Linked DNA regions of Homo sapiens: region 2 is linked to region 1. The links are contacts of gene promoters, found by promoter capture Hi-C in human tissues and cell types (Jung and others, 2019). All regions are on one chromosome and are shown on one strand. The core of a region is centred on a gene start or on the middle of the fragment in contact, and the rest is flanking DNA. Distances in the headings are between cores, read along the strand shown.

The links. Contacts are between HindIII fragments. The study calls those that stand out against the background at their distance.
Region 2: a contact is called between a fragment that was not itself captured here and the fragment with the promoter of PSG9 in region 1, in 2 of the 25 tissues and cell types used here (H1 embryonic stem cells and pancreas).

Annotation. Positions count from the first base shown.
Region 1 is chr19:43,266,044-43,272,572 of GRCh38, forward strand. PSG9 (pregnancy specific beta-1-glycoprotein 9) reads right to left here and starts at 3,487. Exons shown (of 6, transcript NM_002784.5): 1 at 3,325-3,487; 2 at 1,741-2,106. The coding sequence starts at 3,388. The HindIII fragment of the contact is 8,927 bases long and covers 1-6,529 here.
Region 2 is chr19:43,133,750-43,140,278 of GRCh38, forward strand. No RefSeq gene overlaps it. Among named protein-coding and RNA genes, the nearest start is that of PSG11-AS1, 18 kb to the right of the region's middle. The HindIII fragment of the contact is 7,180 bases long and covers 181-6,529 here.

The DNA of each region.
Region 1 (6,529 bases), core at 2,237-4,736:
CAGGACAGGGCTTGCCAGTCAGAATGAAGTGGGAGGAAGATGAGGGACACAGAGAAGCAGAGAGAGGCAGAGACACCATGGCAGTGAGCAGTGAGGGAGACACTGACTTCAGAGACCCCAGGGCCCAGGTGCCCCCAGTTCCACAGTCCAGGACCAAGGAGCCCTGAGAACCCTCCGGTGGCCAAAGAGCTTCAGAGTTACATGAGGTGGGGTGGCTTTAGGGGCAAGAGGTAGTGGGGGGATGAAACGTGGGTGTCAGCCTCTGAAGGACAAGGGACAGGTGTGGCTAGAACCTCCTAGGATTCTGCATGCAAATTCAGTCTCTAAAGAGGTTTTGGATCATTCATTTCTTCATTCAAGTTCTTCATTCATTATGTGAGAGCTCCTGAGTGTGTGTCTCTCGCTGGGCCTGTGCTGGTGTAGGGTGTGAGTGGGGAAAGAAAACAAGGTCCTCTCCTTGATCCTCTCATGACAGTGACATGGACACTTTGGGAAACACAGGATTTCACGTTCAGTGATGGGGGTTAAGATCTGAGGGGGAGGCCTGGACATATTTTTTGCACTGACTCTGATGGTTGAGGCAGGTGATTTAGTTCTGGAATACAGACTAATCAGCTGACCATTTGCTCTCACTCCTCTGAGGTTTGGATGCCTAAGAAGAGAGGATTTGAGCCAATAAATGACTATGGGGTCCTTGGAACCCAGTAAGCCCTCACTTCTGGTGGAGGAGAGGATAGGCCTGTGGCTGCAGACAGACCTCATGTGACCCTGATCTCCCCTTTGTGTTTGTGTGACTCTGGTTCAGTGACTGCACCTTCCTGTGCCTCAGTTTTCTCTCAATCAAATAAACTAAATGGCAAATGGACTGTGGCTTTTCATGCTATCTGTGAATAAATGTTAAATGATTCACAGTCACCTGACCTAATGCTTGGCACAGTGGAGGTTTCACACAAGCAGCATTTATTATTAATTTGCTTCCATGAGAAAGCACCTTATGTCAGATCCCTGTGGACAAGCTGCTACCAGGTACATCTTCTCCCTTCTGTTTCTGCTTCTGGGGACATTAGACTTTCTATGGACTGTCCTAAGCCTCCCAAGGCAGTTGGCTGATGTCCTACAAAGCTTGTCTTTCTGTCCTCTCCACTCTGAGTGTCAGCTGAAAAAGCTCTGTCCTTGCCCAGATGAGACTCTGAGGGCTGAGCCCTGGCTGGTGAACAGCTCCAGGAGACACAGTCCTCAGACAGCTGGTAAATTCTTGGTCCCAGTAAGGCCTGCCCAAGAAGCCACAACCCAGCACTGGCACAGGCTCCTCAGCTTAACTGGAGCAAGGATTTAGGGACAGGGGTCTGGGGTTGAGGCTTCTAGGGCTGAGCTTCTCTGAGAGTATCTCAGGGGTCCCCTCAAGCCAAGCCCTACTCAGTTCTCCAGGGTCTTTCTCAGGGTCAAATTTATGAAGAGGGCATGATGTGCTTGGCTGAGACTGATCTCCTCCTGCTGAGTCCCCCCATCAGACTGTCCTTCCTCTGCAGCGAGTGTCTGCAGGGTCTGGATGCGGGAAAGGAATTCTGATCTGTTGAAATTTGTCTCCTCTGTGTGTGTCCTGCACTAAATGCCCAAACCCCAGCATGGGACATAATGCAGAGAGTGACACAGGCAGAGTCCAGGCCTGACAATCCTGTGTGTGTGAAGTAGAAATGACCCCTTCCCCCCAACACCCAGGGATCATGTGGAATCACTCACAGTATAAGGTGAAGGTGAAATGTCGAATTTCTTCTCTAGTCTCATCACCTCGCTTTATGATGTGTAAGGTGTAGGTTCCTGCATCCTTCCGGGTGACATTCTGGATCAGCAGGGATGCGTTGGAATATACTGTTTCTCTTCCACTGTATGCAGGCCCATATATAATTATTTTACCATCAACTATATACGATATAATGTAATGGTAGAGGTCCGTCATTTCCCCTTTGTACCAGAAGTAGCCAGGAAGATTCTGGGGCAAATTGTGGACAAGTAGAAGAACATCCTTCCCCTCAGAAACTTTGGGTGGCTGGGCTTCAATCGTGACTTCGGCAGTGGTGGGCGGGTTCCAGAAGTTTAAAAGTGATGCTAGGAGGGGGAGACAGCATCAGTTAATATTGAGACCTATGTATTGTGGTGAAAAGATGGGGCCCTGGGTCCTGAGAAGGTCTCTTCCATCCTCAGCCTTGAAGATACACACACGCACACATACAAACAAACACACACAAAAAACGGGCATGTGTGTTTGTGTATGTGTATGTGTGTGTGTCCTACTGTCCTACTAGGTCAAGGTCAGCAGCATGACCCCCATTCCTTCAACACTTCTGACCTTGGCATTTTTCTGTTTGGAATCCTCTTCCCCAGGGGTCCACACGGCCCCCTCCACACTGCCCTCAGGTCCTGCTCACATCAGGGCATCCTTAGACTTCTTTCCTGACACCTCCTTCAGAGACCCTGGGTCTTCCCTTTCTGACCTTTCCCTGCTCTGCTCCCTCCAGGGTTCTTGTCAACACCTGATCTCACATTCTACATCTCTTCGCATGTCTGTCTTCCTCCCCATGACAGCGTGAGCTCCGTGAGGACAGGGACTTTTGTGATCCTGGTTGCACCCCAGTGCCTGGGACAGGCTGCAGACTCCTGTAGATGTGAGAGTTCTCAGGGCCCTCCATGCCCTGGGTGTTTTTTTTTCCCCCAATTGTTGAGGTTTTTTGCTGAGGATAGTGTTTCATGTCCTGCTTATATTTTTATTTGAAGTGTCATCTGATATAGTTATTATTATCATTTTTCAAAATGTGGTGGCCCCGGATGATTAATCAGGAAAACAGAACACTTAAGATTTTCCTACCTCTTACCAATTCCGGTTCAATGTGACTTTCCTCTTTTGACCCCTGTCCCTCTCTGGTGTATTTTCCCCTATCCAGGCTGCAACAGAGCCTTCTTTCCTTTTTTTCTTTTTTTTTTGAGACGGAGTCTCGTACTGTCGCCCAGGCTGGCGTGCAGTGGCGGTATCTCGGCTAGCTGCAACTTCTGCCTCCCGGGTTCACATGATTCTCCCACCTCAGCCTCCCGAGTAGCTAGGATTACAGGAGTACACCACCATACCTGGTTAATTTTTTATATTTTTAGGAGAGACTGGGCTTCACTGCATTGGCCGGACTGATCTTGAACTCCTGATCTCGTGATCCACCCACCTCAGCCTCCCTAAGAGCTGGCTTCTTTTATTTTACAACCCCATCCTCTCCAGGAGACCCCATCCAGTCACTCCGCTTCCTCCCCCTGTCCTCTCCCAGGAAGTTCTCTCCTCACCTGTGAGCAGGAGCCCCTTCCAGGTGATGCGCTGTGTGCAGGAAGGGGCTGGGAGGGGCCCCATGGTCTCTGCTGCCTGTGTGTTCTCCTCTGTGGAGATGAGCCTGGGATCCAGAAGCTGTCTGAGCACGGCTGTCAGCTGTGCTGTCCTTCCTCCTTCTGTGCTGAGCCTCTTCCCGGGGCAGGAGCACTTCTCAAGCTCATGGGCGGGGTCAGTCCCAGGACACCTCTCTGTCCCCTTCTCTCTCAGTCCTGCCTCCTTGTCCCTCCTTCTGTTTTTCCTTTTGTCTGTGTTTCAGGTCCCTGGGAGTTGTGGAGGCCTCTGCCTTTTTCAGCAGTGATTCTTTCACCAAACCTCAACACACACTTTGTGCAGACACACACACACACACACACACACACACACACACACAGAAGAGACACACACAGACCCACACAGTCAGGCACATACCCTGCAGGTTGGGCAAGCACAGTCCTGGGCCTCAGCCTCCTGCTGTCCCCATGGCTCTGGGTTGGGGTGCACATTCATGCCTTTTACCCTCTTTCATCCCCATCTGGCTCTCCCCTTCAGTGCAGGAGGCTGGAGATGCACCAGGTCCCTGTCACAGTGACACCCCATTGTGCTGTGGGTGAGCTGTGTGTTGCCTGGTGAGAGGGACCCTTCCTTTCTCTAATCGTGTCAAGCTTGACTGCAGCTTCCAAGGATGGACTTTCAGGACCTGGGTGTCCCAGAGGAAACTGTCCTTCCTGGAGGTGTGCAGGGTGAATCTCTCATGCCTCTTAGGAGGAGAGGCCTGTGCTGGTTGCTCAGTGGGGGCTGTGAGTCCCATAGTCAAAGGGACAGTTCTCTGTCAGTCTATGGCTCCCTGGGGTCTGGCGGCTGAGCTGGAGCTCAGGGTTTCTCATGTTCTCCCTGACCATCTTTGATGTCCTCTCTTCTCTGCCCAGCTGATTGTCCTGTGGTCACCACACCTTCCCCGTGGTGGTGCAGGAGGAAGTGGGGAGTTACCCAGGAACCCCGCGGGACATGGCTCATTGAGACGCAGGAGGGGGAGCCTGGGACAGAGCAGGGGTTCAGAGCTGGAGAGATTCATCCCGACTTACTCCGTGGCCATGATGGGCTCAGCCCTCCATGTGCTGACACACCCAGGGGTCTGTCCTGAGGGTTTTGACCTGGCCAAGCTGCTGTCTGTAGAGGAGGAACAGGCAGTGACCAGAGAGGCTCTCTGGAGGGACGTTGCTCACACCTGAGAGGGCGGGTGGGGGTGAGTTGTGTTCTGGGAGCAAAGAGCAATAACACCGCCCTTCTCCACGCAAGTACACAGGAGAGGTCTGTCTTCCCAAGGGACAGCTGGGGGTAGGTGGCCACATCCCGGATGGTACCTGTGAATGACCATCACACGCTCTCTGAGCCCCCTGGGGTGCAGGGGGCAGGCAGGTGACAGGGTGCCTGGCTGATTCCCGGGGAGGCTGTGGGCCCTCAGGCAGCCGCTGTTCTGTGTCGGCGCTAGGCTTGGCCTGGGAAGCCCCAGAGAACAGGACAGATGGAGCAGGGGCAGGCATTTAGGGAGCAGTGACAGAAAGAGTTGATGAGGATGGAGAGAGTTCACGAGGGGAAAGCGCCCAGTGTGGCGTCGCGTGCACCAGCGCTGCCCTGGGAGATGCCTTTAGCTGGGCCCAGGGAAGGAGCAGGTGTGTGGGGCAGGAGCTCCCTGCAGAGGGAGTGGTGTTAGGTTGGCGGCCGCCAGGTCAGGGAGGAACTGACAGAGTCCGTGTGGGGAGCATGGAGGGTGCTGAGGACTTGGGCCGAAGTGACCCTGGTGAGGGTGGACCCTGCTGGGCTGTGGGTTCCGCTGAGGGAGGTTGGCATCCCCTGGGAAGGCTCCAGGCTGGGAGGGACTCTGTCGCCCTCTGGTGGACAGGGAGGGAAGTGTGAACGGCAGCAATCCCAGGCCAGGCTGCATGTTTTATTCCACTTCACACGAGGTCACACATATGTTATGTTACAGCTCCTTCACCTTCCAGCCCCGTGAGTCCCAGTCTCTGTGGCTCTACGTTCACTGTTATCCCTCTTTCACAATCAGATGTCCCAAACGCAGATTTTTGTCACCTTCTGTGAGTTTGTGTTTGTGTGCAGTAGGCAACACTGTGAATACCCTGGGGGCAGTGATGCCTGGGGCTGAGCACTGCACATGGGTTTGAGAGCAGAAGAGGGAGCAGCAGGGTGGGAAGATCAACGTCAGGGGGGCAAGGACAAGTCATTTTCATTTTCTCACTCCCAGGGACCAGAACCCAGGATTCTGACTCCAGGGCACAGTACCACACCCTGCTGGTGTCCCTGGATGTCATGATGCTCATAGTGTCATGTTGCCTTGGCATTCATTTTTTAAGGTGTAAGTTTATTTGCCTCAAATCAGAGGCAGGGCTTGGTCACCATGGTAGTTTTCAATACTGTGTCTGGTTCAAGTGGCTCCAGTTGGTGTCCAGAGATAAAATCTTAGAGGCATCTCTCCTGCTTGGTGTGCTGGGCTCCCCTCTCTCAAGCTGCTTTCTTTAAACTGATAATTCTGACATTCGCCCTCACATTTAAAGTGACTACCTCTCAGTCACAGCGTGAGCTCCTGGTCCCAGTGTTTGCTGCTTGCTTTGAACACATCCATTAAAGCTCCCTGCTGGAAACCTGTCAGATAACACCCTGGACTTAATAAAGCCATTCGCTTACAGGTCTCTTCTCTCCTCCCTGCATGGGGTCACTGACCACTGTGTCTGTGGTCTCCAGGTGTGCCGAGTGCTCCCTAGTGTCTGGAAGTAGTAAAAATACTTACATTTTCACGTTGTGGTTGTATTGCTGTTGCCTCACATGCCATCCAGGGCCTGACATTGAGGCTGCCCTATGGGACCTGTGCTGGTTGAGCCCTTGCTGGAGCTCTTGTTTTGGGGCCTTTGATTCTCCTGGGGACAGGAGCTTCCAGCTAATTTGATTGAAATACTGATGTGTTTCATTGACACACTGGGTCAGATGATGTATTCATGGGCTTCAGCTGCCATAACAAACACCTTAGCTTGGGTGAACGATATAATAGAAATCTATTTTTCACAGTTCTGTGAATAATGTGCTATTTCAACCACTTTAAAATGCACAATCAAGTGAAATTAACCACATACACAGTGTTAAATTACCATCACCACTATTTTCCCTAGAAAA
Region 2 (6,529 bases), core at 2,521-5,020, 130 kb before region 1:
AACAGCATACTTCTAATGGTGGTTCTCAGTCTTTATTTTGAGGAAAGTGGTCACTTAAATAATGACATATGGAAAAGATACAATTTAAGTAATAGAGACTTCCCACGCAAACCCCATGTAAGGGGAGGAATCGAACGTATCAAGGGCATTCCCCAAGCCCAAGGTGATAGAGGTGAGAAATGCTCACTTATTAGTGCCAATTTCAATCTCCTGATAGATTTTCATTTAGTATGCTGTAAAAGAAAATATCCCTGCAGACACTGGCACTTGAGGGATTACAGTGGTGGGGAGAAATTCCCTTATTTATTTGTGGAATTCAATGAAGCATTTCAGAGTCCACCTTCTGGGGATAACCTGTTCATTGCAATGGAGTAAATCAATAGCCTTCATTTAGATTCTTAACTGGCAATTTGATCTCATTCACTTTAACCAGCACTCATTGGCTGGAGGAATGATGGAGACTGGGAGCAGGCTCCTAAAAAGGGTCTTGAAAATGTTATTTCAACAAAGATTAATTATGAGGCATTGAGAGTTTCAGAAAGGTTCACATTTTTTTTCTAAAGCTCTTCTAAGCCAATCTTAAATGAATCCTCAGAGGACTATTTCTGTGGGTGTGTGTCTGCTTGTGTGTGTGTGCATGTGCATGTGTGTGTCTTGCCCCATTCCAGTTCTCCATCCCCATGCTGAGGAGGCTGGAGGATTCAGAATGCAGAATCAGGTGCATTTTTAAAAAATCATTATGTCAGTCCTCACCAAAACACTGGCTATTTCTATCTTTCCTTCTCATTTTACTCTGCTATAGGAGTCTAAGTAAATCATCTTTAGGAAATACCAAAACCTACCAGGGGTTTTAGATTCATGGCGGCCAACACAACCTAGTATTGATAGCCCATGTAAATGTTTGCCATCCAGATAACAAGAATAACGACAAGAGAAAACTAACATGACCTGCCCCATAGTGTGCTAGATCCACATCTCTTGGGGAATGTTTTGAAGCAAGTTAATACAAGCTACTTGATAAAAGGCTTCCGTGATGAAATGAGATTGGGGAAGCTGAGTTAAACAAAATCAAACAGTGTTCTGTGTTGGACACTTCTCAAATCCTTAACCATGCTGAAAAGCTTAGAGTATTTCCAGGAGAATAGCATAGCACCCCACATCCCAGACCTGCACAGCCCCTGCTCAGGCCATCTTGTGGGACAAACAGTATGCAAAACACACATTCTGGAACATGCTTGAGTAGAGGGGAGGCCACTCTCTAACTTGGGCACAGTTCTGCTCTGGCACACACTGACAAGGTGACACTGGGTGACTCATTTAGTCCCTCTGTAAACGGCCCTTCCTCATATGCGAGAGGCCATGGAACGTTGGCCTCTCAGACGTTACTGGCTCTAACATTATTTTGCCAAAAATAAAATAATTAGTGTGGATGTGTTATAGGAAAGGGGTCTGGATACAGACCCCAAGAGAGGGTTCTTGGATCTCACCAAGAAAGAATTCAGGTCGAGTCCATAAAGTGAAAGCAAGTTTATGAAGAAAGTAAAGGAATAAAAGAATGGCTACTCCATAGACAGAGCAGCCGTGAGGGCTGCTGCTTGCCCATTTTTATGGTTATTTCTTGACGATATGCTAAACAAGGGGTGGATTATTCATACCTCCCCCTTTTAGTCCATATATGGTAACTTCCTGATGTTGCCATGGCATTTGTAAACTGTCATGGCTCTGGTGGGAAGGTAGTAGTGAGGATGACTAGAGGTCACTCCCGTTGTCTTCTTGGTTTTGGTGGAGTTCCACTGGCTTCTGTGCAACCTGTTTTATCAGCAAGGTCTTCATGACCTGTATCTTGTGCCGACCTCCTGTCTCATCCTGTGACTTAGAATGCCTTAAGTGTCTGGGAATGCAGCCCAGTAGGTCTCAGCCTCATTTTACCCAGCCTTTATTCAAGATGGAGTTGCTCTTGTTCAAATGTCTCTGACAGATGTAATAGGTAACGCTCAGAAACTGGCATCAGAGGCTATGCAACCTGAACAGAATTGGCTGACATATATCTCCGGGTATAAAGAAAGTCTCAGCTTTCCCCTGAGATGTAATGATGAATGTCCCTAAAGCTTCCTTCACCCTTCCATGCTAAACTCGCTCCACTGTTCCATCATCTGCTTTGAAGCCACAAGGACAGCCAGTTAGGACTTTGTCATCATCACTTTTAACTTTTGTTTAACTTTTAACAAAGATTGGCCTTTTTAAAGGCTCAATTATATTTAAAAAAAAAACAAAACAAAACTTCCTGCCACTTACGCAGTCCATTCATTTTAAACAAAGTTGATAATGCAAGTCAATGGGAAAAGAATAGTCTTTTTCAACACATGGAATTGGAAAAACTGGATACCTATATGGATAAAAATGAACTTTGATCCCTTACTCCATACTCTGCACAAGCATTAAATTAAGATCAACTGAGATTTGACCTGAACATAAAATCTAAAATTTTGAAGCTTTTACAATAAAGCAAAGGTAGACAAAGACTCCTTCTACAAATACCTGGCACTAAACATTAAAAAATCATAAATTGTGCTTCATCAAAAATACATCTGCTCTTCAAGATAGATGAAAAGGCAATTCACTGACTTTGAAACCAAGTATTTGTGTTCAGAATATGTAAAGGAATTCTAAAACTCAACATAAAAAGACAAAAATAAAACAAAAACACACGCAAAAAAAAAAAAAATAGAAAATGAGCAAATTATTTGGACAAAAATCTCCCAAAAAAGGAAATGCAAATAGCTAGCAATCACAGGAAAAGTTGCTCGATATTATTAGTTATCAAGGAAATAAAAAGTGAAACCATGAGATACTCCTACCCATTAGAATGGCTACAGTTAAAACGACTGACAATACTAAGTTTTGATGAGGATGTGGAGCAATTGGAATGCTCATGTATTGAGGTGAGAATATAAAATGGTGCAACTACTTTTAATAACTACCCTATGGCTCAACAATTCCATTTATAGATATATACCAAAAAGTTATGAAAACATATATTCATCCACACAAAGACCTGTACACAGATATTCATTGTAGCATTATTCATGATAACTTCAAATGGAGCAGAACCCAAATGCTTACCAAAGGATAAATGGATAAACTTACTGTTACATATTCATATAACGACATACTACTAACAGATAAAAAAAGGAATAACTATTGTTACCTGCAATGGAAACATATATAAATCTCAGAAATAGTATGTTGTTAAATAGGCCAGATACCAAATAGAATATGTTGCATGATTCCATTTATATAAAGTTCTAGTAGAGGCAACATGAAAGCCATGGTAATAAGAACAGCAGTTGCCTGAAGTTTTGGGGTTTGGTGATATGAGGAAATTTTCTGGAGTGATGGAAATATTCTTTATCTTTATTAGGCTGATGTTTTCACAGGTGAATATATTTGTGTAAACTCATCAGAATATATAAAGGATCCTACAACTCAAAATAGAATTTTAAAAAACCACAAAAAGTTATTGTGATGGTTAATATTGAGTGTCAACTTGATTGGATTGAAATGATATAAGTATTGCTCCTGGGTGTGTCTATGAGGGTACTGTCAAAGAAGATTAATATTTGAGTCAGTAGACTGGGAGAGGCAGCCCCTTCCTCAATTTGGGTGTGCACCATCTAATCAGCTGCCAGCGTGGTAGGATAAAAGCAGGCAGAGGAACGGGAAAGGACTAGACTGGTTTTGTCTTCTGGCCTACATCTTTCTCCCAGCTGGATGCTTCCTGCCCTCGAAAATCAGACTCCAAGTTCTTCAACTCTGGGACTCGGACCTTTGAACACAGACTGAAGGCTGCACTGTCGGCTTCCTTACTTTTGAGGCTTTGGGACTTGGACTGACTTCCTGGATCCTCAGCTTGCAGATGGCCTATTGTGGGACCTCACCTTGTGATCACGTGAGTCAGTGCTCCTTAACAAACTCCCCTTTGTATATACATCTATCCTACTACTTCTGTCACTCTAGAGAACCTTGACGAATACGGTTATGCATTTTTATTAATGTAAATTATGCCTTAATTAACAATAAATACCTTCTCAACCTCCAAAAAGAGACTTTCTGTCTGAAACTTGAGAATAAGTCTAAAGTTTTCATTTAATAATGAATTTGTAAAAGACAGGAAAATTGATTTTGGCATTAATTTGTTCAACAAATATCTGTTGAGCATGTCCTATGTGGCAGAGGCTGAGTGTGGGGTGTGGAGTGGGTGAATGTAAGGAACATATAGTTCCTGGCTCCCTAGAGCTTATTATGGTCTAGGGGTTGGAGAGAATTGGTACATTGGGATTTTAAAGGGGGTGCCAAAAGTGGTGATGACAAAGTTCAGGGAAGAACAACTGGAGTGGAGGGAGGGCATCAACATGGATGCTGAACCAAGCCAATGTACTGCTAAGAGTGAGGTGGAAAGTATCATGCGAACCCCAGAGCTTCAATTGTCAATACATACTGGGGTGTGACCAGCAGATTGATAGAAGACAGCAAAGAGAGATGGGTAAATGCCAATAGAGCAGAATAGCATGACTTGTCAAGAGACAGGACTTTTCAAGGTGAAAGGAAGGGAGATGGTCCTGAAGCAGCAGTCATGTCTGTGACCCAACCAAGCCCTAAGCGATGACAGATAGAAACAGAGTCAGGGTCCTCAGAGGACAACTTAGTTTTAATTAAGGACAGAAGTTGAGAAGAATATTTTAAGAAACATTTGAGGGCATATTACAGTTTGCTGGCTATGGGTTAGGGTAGGGTAGAAGAGAGAGATTTGGAATAAAGGGTATGGATGGGACAAGACAAAGCAGGGCACCAGCCCTACCTTGGACCTTTCCTTAACTTGAGAAAGTCATGTCCATGTTGATTCAGCCAATCTGACTCAGGTATTATGTAACTTGAAATTGAACCATCCCAACTGATATAAGTGGTGATACTGAGTAACACAAATGTGCTTTCTGGATTCACACATGCACTTTTTTTTACATGAAAAGTTCAAACTTCTATGTGGAGATTTTTTTCAACAGTATCCTCAAGAAGTATTCATCATGCAACTCTTTCTAGGAAAGGTATTTTAAAAAGAAGAAAAATGTCATTTCTGGCCCCAGAATGTCAAGACATACATCTCTGAGAGATTTAGTTCTAATTATTATTGTAGAGTCTTGTGGGTGTTTCTTATAATTTTAATTTTTACAAAAAACAAATCTGTCCATCCATGCATCTATGTATGTATGTATATATGTATGTATCTATCTTCATCATCATCATAATTATCCATCTATGATCTATCTATTGTGTATCTATCTAATAATCTACCTATGCAGAACTGCAAAATTCACAGGACTGGCCCATACTGCCCTCTGCTCCCCACTTTGTCTAAACTTCAAAATGAAGTTTCTGGACACAGGGCTATGAAATGCAAAATGAAACAACTCATGTCCAAAGCTCTGACACTCTGCTGCTCATGAAAACCTGCAATATCCAACTGAGTTTTTCATTTTTAACATCAGCAGGTCTAGTTCTCTATCTTCATAGAGAGTTATTTTTAATTTTATTAGGGGATAAATTCTTTTTTAATAAAGAAATTATTAGGTATCAAAATACCACAATCTCTTTATGGATCCAACTAGATTATGTGTATGGGCAAAGTATTTTCAACTTAAGAATAACATTCCTGTTCCTTGAATACTATTTTGAAAGTTTGGATTAAGGGATATTAACTTCCTTAAGACAAAACAGACTCACAGTTGAAAACTACTCACCTTGTATATAGAAGTTGCTTAATTAATATCAATGATTTTTATTGAATTGGAACAAAATAGACTATAACTTTTTATAAGATACATATGGGTTTGTTACTAAATATTATTAAAATGAATGTAATGCAATAATATTCTTATTTTGAGGTAATACATATATAGTCTGCAAAAATTAGGTTTCCTGGTGTCATTAACCACTTATGCAATTATTTTTCTGAAATGAATACACATGCTGTACGTGCAGTTTTGCCTGATATAAGTTTTAAAACAACGTATATTGGAATCTTGGAACTAAAAATGAGAAAATCAGTGTCCCCTTGATGTCAATTTCAGTTTCAACTACACTTGCTATTTTATTTTTAATCAGTTACTTACATTATCTCCACATTGTCACAGTTGATGGTATTTGTTTTCTTCTCTGTGACCATAATTTGCACAGATTTAACCATAATGCATCGTTAAAGATTACAAGAAATCTTTTAGACACAGCTCCTCTCAGTTGCTGAGAGTCCAACCTTTACTCATTTGTTTTCTTCATGAATATATATTTCCTGAGTTGTATGTTTGTACATAGCTATTTGTAGCCTTTGAAGTTTATGGAAGTTTGTTTGGTTGCATTCTTGGGGCACATTTTCTTTCCCTGAGGACTGTTAAGGTTAGGATATTTGACCCTTTCAAAGCTCATGTTGAAATTTAGTCCCCAATATTGGAGGCTGGGCCTAATAGAAGGTGTTTGG